5 separate regions of the Homo sapiens genome follow, and regions 2, 3, 4 and 5 are each linked to region 1. The links are contacts of gene promoters, found by promoter capture Hi-C in human tissues and cell types (Jung and others, 2019). All regions are on one chromosome and are shown on one strand. The core of a region is centred on a gene start or on the middle of the fragment in contact, and the rest is flanking DNA. Distances in the headings are between cores, read along the strand shown. Region 1 holds the start of SLC45A2 (solute carrier family 45 member 2). Region 2 has its middle 43 kb from the start of TARS1. Region 3 has its middle 200 kb from the start of RAI14-DT. Region 4 overlaps ADAMTS12 (ADAM metallopeptidase with thrombospondin type 1 motif 12). Region 5 overlaps ADAMTS12 (ADAM metallopeptidase with thrombospondin type 1 motif 12).

The links. The method cuts DNA at HindIII sites, captures the fragments that hold promoters and counts their contacts. A contact is called where the count stands out against the background at its distance.
Region 2: a fragment that was not itself captured here is called in contact with the fragment with the promoter of SLC45A2 in region 1 in 1 of the 25 tissues and cell types used here (aorta).
Region 3: a fragment that was not itself captured here is called in contact with the fragment with the promoter of SLC45A2 in region 1 in 1 of the 25 tissues and cell types used here (IMR-90 fibroblasts).
Region 4: a contact is called between a fragment that was not itself captured here and the fragment with the promoter of SLC45A2 in region 1, in 1 of the 25 tissues and cell types used here (lymphoblastoid cells).
Region 5: a contact is called between a fragment that was not itself captured here and the fragment with the promoter of SLC45A2 in region 1, in 2 of the 25 tissues and cell types used here (IMR-90 fibroblasts and lymphoblastoid cells).

What each region holds. Positions count from the first base shown.
Region 1 is chr5:33,983,393-33,985,979 of GRCh38, forward strand. SLC45A2 (solute carrier family 45 member 2) reads right to left here and starts at 1,301. Exons shown (of 7, transcript NM_016180.5): 1 at 807-1,301. The coding sequence starts at 1,191. The HindIII fragment of the contact is 13,392 bases long and covers 1-2,587 here.
Region 2 is chr5:33,482,976-33,485,562 of GRCh38, forward strand. No RefSeq gene overlaps it. Among named protein-coding and RNA genes, the nearest start is that of TARS1, 43 kb to the left of the region's middle. The HindIII fragment of the contact is 4,033 bases long and covers 1-2,587 here.
Region 3 is chr5:34,454,501-34,457,087 of GRCh38, forward strand. No RefSeq gene overlaps it. Among named protein-coding and RNA genes, the nearest start is that of RAI14-DT, 200 kb to the right of the region's middle. The HindIII fragment of the contact is 4,681 bases long and covers 1-2,587 here.
Region 4 is chr5:33,585,000-33,587,586 of GRCh38, forward strand. The region is part of intron 18 of ADAMTS12 (ADAM metallopeptidase with thrombospondin type 1 motif 12); the gene reads right to left. Among named protein-coding and RNA genes, the nearest start is that of TARS1, 150 kb to the left of the region's middle. The HindIII fragment of the contact is 4,295 bases long and covers 1-2,587 here.
Region 5 is chr5:33,639,773-33,642,359 of GRCh38, forward strand. ADAMTS12 (ADAM metallopeptidase with thrombospondin type 1 motif 12) reads right to left here. Exons shown (of 24, transcript NM_030955.4): 11 at 2,038-2,183. Among named protein-coding and RNA genes, the nearest start is that of TARS1, 200 kb to the left of the region's middle. The HindIII fragment of the contact is 4,544 bases long and covers 1-2,587 here.

The DNA.
Region 1 (2,587 bases), core at 51-2,550:
GTCCTTCAGTAATCCTCCTTAGAGTCAACAATGCTTATCAGCTTTTTGTTCATTCTCCTGGAAATATCCTACATTTGTACATTTACGCTTTCTTTCAAATATGTACAAATGATAATTGATTATCCTGCCTCATAATCACCGATTCTGCTAGCTTGAGAGTTAATGATCTACAAATGTGTGCTATTTTTAGCGATCCTTTTTGCAATGCAACTTTATTGTACTACCATCAATTACTGATTAATTGGTAGCTGATTAATGGCTAGAAAAAATGCCTACCCTCAGGTTTGCTTTTGTCCAGAATTTGCAATGCCAGAAAGGTCCTCTTGAGCTGATGGGCTTATGCCCTACGCCTATTAAAACGCTCTACATAAAACTATGAACAGAATTAACTTATTTGGATACACAGGTGACTTATTGTAAATATTTATGGAGCTATTTGGCAGCCAGTCAATTTGATAAGAGTATTAAATAGAGCATAATGGGCTCAAAAAGTAACTCAATTGATAAATATGTAAAAATATTCAATTCGATAAAATAGATACAAATTTAATAAAATAGATACAAATTTAATCCTATTTTTAAATCTTCACAACAATGAAACATATTTATTTTGATATTTCTAGAAGTAGAGGCTCCCCAACCACAGAATCTGGGCCAAATTTGTCAAAGGGGAAGTTCATTGTAACCTAGGAGAGATCAATTCTAACAAATTTCTAGGAAAGGTCAAACACATGAACATCCTCCTCCTGCAGAGGTACACACTAAGACACATATCCCTGTCTGCCCACCTTGTGCAGCCCACTTACCTGCTACAACAGTAGCCCCATTGAGGTACAGAGCCATGCCCACGAGCATCATGACTCCCAGGGTGAGGATGTAGGGTCTCCGGCGGCCCCACCTGGACCGGCAGTGGTCGCTGGCCGATCCGACCACGGGCTGCAGCAGGAATCCCAGGATGGGGCTGAGGAACCACACAATGCTGTACAGGCTGCTGGGCAGACCTACGCTGAGCAGGACTGGGGTCACATACGCTGCCTCCACCGCGTAGCAGAACTCTCTTCCGAACATGGCCATGCTGTGCATGATGAGTCTGCTGGTGGGTCTTTTAGGCGGCTCCACAGAGTCAAAGGGGCCATCATCAGCTAGGGATTTATAGATGTGGCGGCCAGCCTGCCCACTGTTGCTACCCATGGCCACTGGGAGAGGAACCTTCCTGCGAGCCCACCACCTCCTGCGTGGTCCTAGGGTCTGTGTTTCAAACTGGATTTGACGTGGAGCCTGGCCGAGCAACCAACAGAGATGGTCAGGCTGGGGGAGGGGCTCAAATTCTTTCCTGCCTCTAAGATCACAAGTTATGATGAGAGGGAGGGGGTGGTGCTGGAAAGCATGACAGAGATTAGCAGCTGTGAATCAGCCCTCTGGCTCCATAAGACGTTGGAATACTTTTCTAAAGGGATCCTCCTTTGTACTGTTCCCTCTCTCTTTCTCTCTCTCTCACACACACACACAATTACACGTGATCACACACATGGCTTCTCTCCCTCTCACACACACGTTATTACACGTGATCACACACATGGGCTCTCTCAGACAGTATTACACATGATCACACACATGGTTTCTCTCTCACACACACATGCTATTACACATGATCACACACGTGGCTTCTCTCACACACACATTATTACACATGATCACACACATGGCTTCTCTCACACACACGCTATTAAACGTGATCACACCTGGCTTCTCACACACACATGCTATTACACATGATCACACACGGCTTCTCACACACATGCTATTACACATGATCACACACATGGCTTCTCTCACACACATTACACATGATCACACATGGTTTCTCACATACATGCTATTACACATGATCACACACGGCTTCTCTCATGCATGTTATTACACATGATCATACACATGGCTTCTCACACACATGCTATTACACATGATCACACATGGCTTCTCTCACACACATTACACATGGTCACACATGGCTTCTCTCACATGCGTTATTACACATGATCATACATGGCTTCTCTCTCACATGCTATTACACATGATCACACATGGCTTCTCATGCATTTTATTACACATGACCACACACATGGCTTCTCTCACACACGTTATTACACATGGTCACACATGGCTTCTCTCACGTTATTACACATGATCATACATGGCTTCTCTCACACATTATTACACATGACAGCTTCTCTCTCACACACTATTGCACATGATCACACATGGCTTCTCTCACACACACATGCTATTGCACATGATCACACATGGTTTCTCTCTCACACACGTTATTACACAACGATCACACACGGCTTCTCTCTCATACACATTATTACACATGACCACACACATGGCTTTTCTCTCACACACACTATTACACATGATCACACATGGGGCTTTTCTCGTTATTACACATGATCGGACTCATGGCTTCTCTCACACACACATGCTATTACACATGATTGCACACATAGCTTCTCTCTCACACACGTGTTATTACACATCACACACGGCTTCTCACACACGTTATTTTACACGATCACACACATGG
Region 2 (2,587 bases), core at 55-2,554, 500 kb before region 1:
GTTGTTTCTCTAAGATTGTGTAGAATTTGGAAAGGGTATAGCTTATTTGACCTTATGGCTTTGTGCGGAAGCCGGGGTCCCCAGTAGATCTCCTGGCTTCTGGATAATGTTTCTTTGCTGCTGGGTTGCTAGGTGCCTCATTGGCCTCCACTGCCAACTTCTGGGTGGTTATTACTTAGGGTTGTGACTATTGCTTGGGCAATGCACCTGCAGGTGCTTTCTGGGCAATTCCATTTCATCCGGCTCTTGATGGCAACATCAGCACCTTGGGGACACTCTGCGATATGTGTTTTGCTTCTGTTTTTTGTCCCGGATTTTCTGCAGGGTCCCCTGTCTCAATAAGGAAAACTCCTTCTATCAGTTTATCCAGGGTAGGCAGGCAGGTACTTCTAGGTCCGACGCAGTGTGCCTCAGTGGACCAGGATCATGGACACAGGACATGGGTAAGTTCCTGAACTCCTCTCTGCCTAAGGTTCTTCATCTATCAAATGAAAGTAGTAATAGTGAGTATTCACTGAACACTTCCTATTTGGCTGCACTTTTTAATGTGTTTCATATTATGATGTGCCAGGCAGAGCTCTGTAATAAGTCAGTGCTTCTCAAACTCTCTGTGGTAAATGATTACCTTTTTTCTTGAATTTCCAATTTGCCACAGATCAATATTTCTGCAAAGTACTTTAAAAGTTACTTCCTATGAGCTTTTACAGTGACAAATGAAAATTTTAAAAAAAACCTTAAAATTGAAATCACTGTACAAATTAGTTATTGGTTATAAATTACTACAAACACTTCAATAAATATTTAACAAATAAAAAAATAAAAAACTTAATTCCTAGAAAATGACATAAAAAAAAGAAAAACAACTACAAAACTTGTATTTGTTGTCCATTGAAAGTGGATGTGGATATAAAGTGTTTAACATAGAAAATTATACTAATAACTTCTACATATTATTTAACAATCATAACTTCTCAAAAAGTTGTGAGTGAAATAATGATTCCCCGCTTTAAGGGCCTTTATGTATATTTTGTTTTTTTGTTTTTGTTTTTTTGTTTTGAGACAGAGTCTCACTCTGTCGCCCAGGCTGGAGTACAGTGGCACAATCTCAGCTCACTGCAACCTCCGCCTCCTAGGTTCAAGCAATTCTCCTGCCTCAGCCTCCTGAGTAGCTGGGACTACAGGCATGTGCCAGCATGTCCAGCTAATTTTTTGTATTTTTAGTAGAGACAGGGTTTCACCATGTTGGCCAGCCTGGTCTCGAACTCCTGACCTCAAGTAATCCTCCCACCTCGGCTTCTCAAAATGCTGGAATTACAGGTGTGAGCCACGATGCCTAGCCCTTTATGTACACTTTGAATAAATGCTGTATATATCAACATTTAAAGATTTTAATACACCCAATGAACTTTTTTCTTGATTTATAAATTTATCGATCCAGTGAAGATTGGATTAGTTCATTTGTAAATGTTCTGTACTTTTATACCTATCTAGTTGCAGGCTAGTAGCAAGCAATTTTTGGACTGTGTAGGTTCAAAGAATATCCTTTGAATAGCACTATTTTACATGCTTTAGATGTATTAACTAATTTAACCCTCACAATAACTCTACAAGGACAGTATTATTATTATACTAGTGAAGTAACTAATAAGTGTTAAAATTTTGCACTCAGGTTTTGGGACTCCAAGGCCCCTGTTCATAGCATGTTGTAGAGGGAAAGAGGGAAAGAGGTAAGATCAGGTAGATTTCTTTCGTCTCCTAGAGACCCAGGGTGGAATGAACAAATGAACAGGAAGCTGTGAAAACTAGTCTGGGGCAAAAGAGATGAAGTAGATTAGGGCATGGGATAGAATTGAGGTGGGCTGTAGTGGTTTATGTCATTCAGGACTAATGGAAGTTACCAGCAAATTCAAAGAATCAGAAGTGGGGTCCCAGGCCTAGCTCAGGGGTTGAGAGGAGGCCTGAATTTACAAAGGTCGTTGTTGCTTAGAATTGATTATAGTCTTCAAATAGAACATAAGGAAAAGAATATATGAAAGAGTGCCATTTGTTCTGTAAAGACATTCTAACCAAATGGCTAGTATGGACAATTACTTGCAGCTAGCAGAACAAAGAAAGTAATTGATCAAATGCAATTGAAAGAGATCCTTGACCTAGCTCTCCAGCCTCCTGCATATGTCATTTAGAAGGGCGACTTGACTCTTAATAAGTCTTTATTTCTAGAAAGTTTTTTCTTTTAAGTAACATGTTTAATGGGAAGATAATAAAATATTTTCAATGCTATTTTATTCTCATGACTTAAATAAAAACTTCAGGACTTGGGAAATATCCCCCTTATGATAAAGCAGACAAAGAGGTAAATGTATGGATTTCCTGAATTGTCTCATCAAAAGCAGTGTGGGTTAAAAACAGGAGGTGTGGCTGGGCCCAGTGGCTCACTCCTGTAATTGCCAGCACTTTGGGAGGCCAAGGTGGGTGGATCACTTGAGGCCAGGAGTTCGAGACCAGCCTGGCCAACATGGCAAAACTCTGTCTCTACTAAAAATGCAAAAAAAAAATTAGCTGGGCGTGGTGGCGCGTGCCTGTAATC
Region 3 (2,587 bases), core at 58-2,557, 470 kb after region 1:
ATTCACTTGAAATTTGTCTCCACTATTTCCTACTACCCTAGCAAACTCCAACCTGAATAGCATGGGTGATGGCACTAAGCCCTATAATAGAAAAAGTGCCCTTAAGCTCTGTATTAGTCCGTTCTCTCACTGCTAATAAAGATACACCTGAGGCTGGCTAATTTATAAAGGAAAGAAGTTTAATTGACTCACAGTTCAGCATGGCTGGGGAGGCCTCAGGAAACTTACAATCATGGTGGAAGGGGAAGGGGAAGCAAGGCAACTTCACAGGGCGGCAGGAAGAAGTGCTGAGCAAAGGGGGAAAAGCACCTTATAAAACCATTAGATCTCATGAGAACTCACTCACTATCATGACGACAGCATGGAGATAGCCACCTCCATGATTCAATTACCTCCCACCGGGTCTTTCCCATGACACATGGGGATTATGGAAACTACAATTCAAGATGAGATTTGGGTGGGGACACTGTCGAACTATATCAAGCTCCATTCTGATTTGTGGTGAGTGTTGAGCCTGCTTAATAATATCCCATTTTTCTACAGCTTTTCTCATTCCCCAAATGGCTCTCAGCAATGTTTGCTCATTGAATATTAGCAAGTTCCCCAGACAGGAATTGGATTTAATATTATTATTCCCCATTCACAGTTGATGGGAGGGAGGTTCAGAGAGATTAAAGGCTCTAGTCAAACTTGGTAGACTGATGTGATAATAGAGGCATTTTTCTCTTCCCATTAAACAGTGCTGTCATTCTCAGTTTACAGATTAAGGCAAATCAGGGCAAAGCAATTTGTTCGAGAGTACTGAGTCAGAGTTCCGTCTTTGCTCCAGTGATTTAAGATGCCACCTCTATTATTCACTACATTTTCATATGCATTTGATTCTATTTCTGGACTTTCTATTCTATTTTATTGGTCTGTCTATGCACTATACCTCATTGTTTTTATTATAGAAGCTCGATTAGATGTCTTAATGTCTGGTAGAACCCTCTACCACCACTATCGTTATTATTTTTTCTTTTAGTATTCTCTGGCTATTCTTGCACATTTATTTTTCCACATAAACTTCAGTATTAACTTGCCAAGCTCTAAAACAAAAATCTGGCCAGGAACAGTGGCTCACGCCTGTAATCCCAGCACTTTGGGAGGCCAAGGCGGGCGAATCACTTGAGGTCAGGAGTTCGAGACCAGCCTGACATGGAGAAACCCTGTCTCTACTAAAAATACAAAATTAGCCAGGCACAGTGGCGCATGCCTGTAATCCCGGCTACTTGGGAGGCTGAGGCAGGAGAATCACTTGAAGCTGGGAGGTGGAGGTTGCAGTGAGCTGAGATCGTGCCATTGCACTCCAGCCTGGGCAACAAGAGTGAAACTCCATCTCAAAAACAAACAAACAAAGAAAAACCTTCTGTATTTTTATTGGGATTGAGATAACTTCATAATTTTATTTATAGAGAATTGTGAGAACCCTGAATATTTGAGACATGTCTCAGTTAATTTAGAAAGTTTATTTTGCCTAGTTTGAGGATGCACGTCTGTGACACAGTCTCAGGAAGTCCTGATGATATGTGCCCAAGGTGGTTGGAGCACAGCTTGGTTTTATACATCTTAGGGAGTCATGAGACATCAATCCATGTATGTAAGATATACATTGGTTCCACCCAGAAAGGTAGGACAACTCGAGTAGGAAGGGGGCTTCCAGGTTACAGGTAGGGGAGAGACAAATGGTTGCATTCTTTTGAGTTTCTGATTAGCCTTTCCAAACGAGGCAATCAGATATGACCTTATCTCAGTGAGCAGAGGGACAACTTTGAATAGAATGGGAGGCAGGTTTGCCCTGAACAGTTCCCAGCTTGATTTTTCCCTTTAGCTTAGGTATTTGAGGGCCCCAAAATTTATCTTCCTTTTGCATTTCCCCCCTTTTCTTTTTTAAAATCTTTTGGACAATATATGCTTTCACTTATTAGTGGGAGCTGAACAATGAGAACACATGCGCACAGGGAGGGGAACAACACACACTGGGGCCTGTCGGGGGAGAGTGGTGGTGGGGACAGTATTAGAGAAAATAGCTAATTCATACTGGGCTTAATACCTAGGTGATGGATTGATAGGTGCAGCAAACCACCATGGCACATGTTTACCTATGTGTCAAACCTGCACATCTTGCACGTGTACCCTGGAACATAAAAAAATACAATTAAAAATAAATAAATAAATATACTCTTTTGGAGAAAGCATTTTAGAAGAAAATGAGTCTCTGGTCTGAGGTTTCATCTGATCTCTCACAGCTAGGATGGTTTCTTCCTAGACTGGTAGGTCATGAGTTATTAGGAAAGCTCATTTTTAGTAGGTTGAGAAGTTTCATGTTCTGTGAAGAAAAAATAGGGGGAGGCTAGATGGCTGGCTGCAGTGGCTTACACCTGTAAGCCCAGCACTTTGGGAGGCTGAGGTACGTGGATCACCTGAGGTCAGGAGTTCAAGACCAGCCTGGCCAATATGGTGAAACCTCGTCTCTACTAGAAATACAAAAATTAGCCAGGAGCAGTGCATGGCATCTGTAATCCCAGCTACTTGGGAGGCTGAGGCAGGA
Region 4 (2,587 bases), core at 39-2,538, 400 kb before region 1:
TAGTCAAACATTTATTAAGTACATGGTGGTTATCCATGTATCCATCCATCCATCCATCCATCCATCCATCCATCCATCCATCCCTCCAAGGAAAAAGATGGCATAGGTTTTTACAAAGTATCTGACTAAACCATTGGAGCCATGATTAAAAATCTCATATAATTTTGGCAATTTATTTTAAAGCTCTCATTGGGGGTACCAGGGGTGTCTCTTGAAGAAGAGGTACCCTTCCATCTATCAAAAAGAAAGAATTATGGAACCCACTGGGCTGCCCTTATTGCCCTGGTTGTCTGGATGCACTGGGTTAAACTGAAAGCTTCATCAAAATAACCCTATTATTCTCATGTTTATCATGTTGCTCTCTGCTCCCACGTGTGGCTACAACTTCTAGTTCACCACTTCAATGTCTAGAGCCCTTTTATTGTAAACTGCCTGAAATGCCTTTGGAAAGGAAAACTGTATAAACAAACACACACATCCTGGCTTCTGGAGTGTCCTGTTTGCCACACATACACATTTGAACCCAGGAAGCCATGCTCTAGGGGCTGTGCCCTTCACTACTAGACTGGCTGCCTCTCACAAGGCATGTCCCTGAAATGGTGTATCTGGGAAGTAAGGGAGTCACAGTAACTTTGATACCTGGTCTCTGTTTACAATAGAGTTCCCTTCTTTACCCTTTAAGTCCACAAAGTAGGATGGGCAAAACCAGGATAAGATTCTTGGTAAAACCTGAGATTGGAGGTGAGAGTCAGGTATCTAGAACATAAGCTTAGAGAAAAGGGGCTGGTCACAGGGGGCAGGAAAGCCTGTCTGGGGCAGCAGGGGAGAGAGCTCCCCTTTCTGATCCCTGCTGGGACAGGGATGAGTGTACCAACCTGGCACGGCTGAGCCCACTCTCTCCTCACTGCTTGAGTTGGTGGAGTGCTTTGATAAGGAAAGGAGCTCATGAATGTACTTCCTCTTTCTTCTCACTTAGTTCAGCCCAGAGAAGGCCATTTTACAGGAGTCTAGAAGGCTGTCAGTTCTTGGGCCTTTTGGATAAGTAACTTTACAGTTTTAGACCATCCAGGGTGATGAAAATGACAAATGCAGATGAAAATGACACAGTGCAGACCAAATGATGGCTGGAGCACTATCCTGCTTCAAATGATGTTGGTCTCCAGACAAAATCTAGATAATAAATACTGCCTGCCAAGAATCACTATGTCACCTCTCTTTAAAAAAAGTATCTGGGCATAGTTAGAATGTCAAAGACATTTCATCATACTCCAGCAAAGTTCATTAGGAGGTTATTAGTAAGAGAGCAGATAGAAGAAAGGAAGACCCATTTGATGAATATTTTGATACTGATTTAACTAAAAGCACTTCCAATGACATCTTCTGAATGAGGGCATTGGCCCAGCCTTTCTGCTCAGCTCTGTCAAGTGGAAGCTAGAAACTGTCCATGTGTGGTCCATTGACTATGCAATGGCCTACATATGGAATCACAGACCCAAGTGCTTCTTACATCATGCCAACTTTTTGGTCTCTTGTTCTCCAGTTAAGACAGGTTACTACGCTTCCCATAAACGTGAACACATTAAGAAGAACTCCTCAGCCAAATCTGTAATTGCAGTCCTCTGAAAAAGCATTAAGATGTTGGCAATTAGTAAATTCTACATGACAAGAATTATTAACAGTTTTGGATGCGGCCAACACATTTTTGGTAAACAGATTTAATAGGCCAGTCACAATACTCCATTCAGCCTTATTTTGACAACACTGTAATTCACAGAAACCTAGGTTGCAGTGGACTAATAAGGCAGGCCAACCAAATGCCGTGATTATACTCTCCCAGGAATAGCAAAAAGAATGTATGGCTTATCACTGATGTGTGTACATACATCTGTGCATGAATCAGTAATACACCCATATTTGTATGTAGGTATATTTCTTTGCATGCATATCTTTATCCTTCCTTTCCTTTTTTCTTTTTCTTTTCTGGATCCCATCTCTCCCACTGGATGGAAGTTCTTACCATCTAGGGACCATATTTTCTGTTTCTTTTTTTTTTTTTAATTTCACCTAGATGCCCAAGAGAACATCCTGTACAGATTCAGAAGGTAAATAAACCTAAACTGTGACATAAGCTAATAAAAGGGAGTCTTGGAAATAAGGTTTCATCAAAGCTGCTGTATTTAAATGAGTGTTTTGCTTTCAAATAGGTATCTTCAGAGATGGTATCTTTGCTTACACAAATTTTAGAATTTTTCTTTCAGAGCAGGTGAAAAGCAATCTGTCACATATTTATCATCAAATATTTTTTAAACACAAAGATTTTGATCACATTATTCATTTATCCATCAGGCCCCATTCTAATTGACTTTCTGTGGCATTCTCCTGAATCAGATATTCTCCATTTTCTCCTGAGTCCTCACAGGAGTTCCTAAAATATCCTGAGCAATGGTGGCATTATTGTTATTATTATTATTTTGAGACAGGGTCTCACTTTCTCACCTAGGCTGGAGTACAGTGGCATGATATCAGCTCACTACAGCCTCGATCTCCCAGTCTCAAGCGATCCTCCTGCCTCAGCCACCCAAGTAGC
Region 5 (2,587 bases), core at 64-2,563, 340 kb before region 1:
TAATTCTTGTTGATTCTGCTGTACTTTGTTCTCCTTGAATGCCCATGAGATTTTCTATACCTCCCCTCCCTCAATGTGGCCTGAGTAAGCTTCTGTTCCTCACTCATGAAAGAGTTTTGACCAAGGCAGTTCACATAGTAGGCTCTTAATTTGTTGATTCCCTTTAGGAGGTACCAAGAATTGTCCTTGTTATTTAAGGTGAGGCTGGTTTTCTATTTGTGCTGATGCAGGGACACTCTATGACCTGGTATGTCTCCAATTCATTTCCATCCAATCAATATCACTGACAGCCTCTTATGAGCCGAGCTCTGCTGGGTTCTCACTAGACAGTTGACCTACAGCAAGGATGCAGTCCCAAGATCAGCTGGCTCATGCACTGGCCTGAATCTGTGACTTGAACCACAGATCCAAATCTATGATGCGGTGCCATTGGCAGTGTTAGCAATGAATTTAAGCAAACCGGCAATGAAGAACAGGCATGTCCACTCACCCAAAGAGACTCTATGACAAACTGTGGCCTTGGAGATGAGAATTAGAACTACCTTTCTCCTGAAGCCAGGTTAGAGATTCATCCTTCACCTCCTCAACTAGGAGTTCCCTTCTCTGATAGCCACAAGTCACTGACCAACCTGCCAAGAACTTTCACACTGGTGGTGTCTGAATATACAGCATTGACAATAAGTCCCAGAGCAAATTGCCTTTCTTTTCTGATCTCTCAAATGAAAATGGAAATCACATTTCTGGATCAAATGGAAACAAACGATTAAATGACAATTTTCTCTAAAAACAAAATACTCTATGAGAAACTCTTGGTTTTGAATTTTGAAAGTCACAGAAACCCAGTACTTAAATAAAACAACTTTCATCAAAGGGTGAAATTTTAAAATAATTTTGTGAAGAATTTCCAAATGCATGCTTATAAATGTGGTAAATGATAAAGATTCATAATAACTACTATTTATTAACACTTTATTATGTAGTAGATACTGTGTTAAATTCCTTACACATACTAACTTATTAACCCTTAGAAAAAATATATAATATATATAGTGTATATATGTATATATGTAATGTATACATGCATATATATTCATATATACATATACTTATATTTAAATACTATACATCTAGGTAATACAGTTATTAACAAAAAGGATAAATAACCTTTGGAATTGAGATATTGAGAGATAAAATCACTTTTATTGCTCGCCTTTTAAAAAATGTGACTCCTACTTTTCAAAGTAGATGAATGTAAATTTAGATAAAAGAAACAATATAATTTCCACTTAAAGGAGATATCACATATACACTTTTAAGAAATTACTTGGGAGACAGTATATCAGAAAATAATGAAATTAAGAATGTAATGTGTATTTGGAAAACAAGCAAGTTTAAATTTACCTCATATATAATATTATCATACAAATAGAATATATGAAAAATTAAGCAATTTGCTTAAACAATTGAAAGTCACTTGTAAAATAACATTTGCAGAATCCTTAACAGGCCACTGCGGAACTTTAGGGTTTATAAAAATCCTTATCGAAAAATATTAAAAATAATTGTCCTCAAAAATGTACCTGTTTTACTAGTTGCTTAAGGAAAGAATTATTCTCATAAAATTGTGTATTCATTATCATTGAAAGCAAGCTACAATCTTATCAGCAAAATTGCGTTTCACTAATCTCTACTGATAAAATTGAGTTATTTAAAAAGATTTAATTGTATAATCTCCTAGAGGCTTTCACATAGATTGCACATTTAAAAGAAATTTGCTTTATTTCCCCAAATGATAAAATCAGCTTACTTATCCAAGTTTTAGTGAGAATCCAGTGCCAAGCCGAAATGAAACAACACAAAACAGAACCACTTTTTTTCCCCACTCTCTGTGAATCTTCTTGTTCTGTTTTGTCCTGGGAACCCATTTAATTTACCTGGAGGAGGCTTGGGGTCACTGAGGTCATGCCATTCAAGACTGCCCCCCATCCCGCCCCCAGCACATGTGGAGAGAAGGGAAATATATTTATCTGGACTCACTCGGGGTTGTTGCAGAGCCTCTCTGCGCTCTGGACTCCAGCCCCACAGGTCCTGGAACAGTGGGACCAGGGTGACCAGCGGCCCCAGCCTCCAGGAATGCTCTCTGGTTTCTTCCCCACTGTGATGCACTTGCCTGCCATACACCACTGGAAAGGGAAGAGGCAGGAGATGGCCGTATCAGGAAGGTTACCAGAGCAAGCTGAGCCAAGAGCCCTAAAAGTCTAAACCCAATTCTCTGCAAGCAAGCCGGCTTTCTACAGTCACATATCAGATGTAAAACAAACAGGGGCTCATATAAGTTTCTGCCAAGAGTCGTGGGTTTTAGAATCAGAGAGTTTCAAGAATGGAAGGAAACTTTACGTTGCCTAATCACACAGGTGCTACACAGTGTGGTTGGCAGATCGAGCACGAGAATGTAAATCAACATACTACTTTTTTCATTGAGAAAGTCTTGTTAGGAAAAGCATGTCAGCTTAGTATGCTTAGCAACATAGTTGCTTAGTAACATAGTTGATTTGCTTTCTGGTGCATGATCCTTATCTTGTTGCAA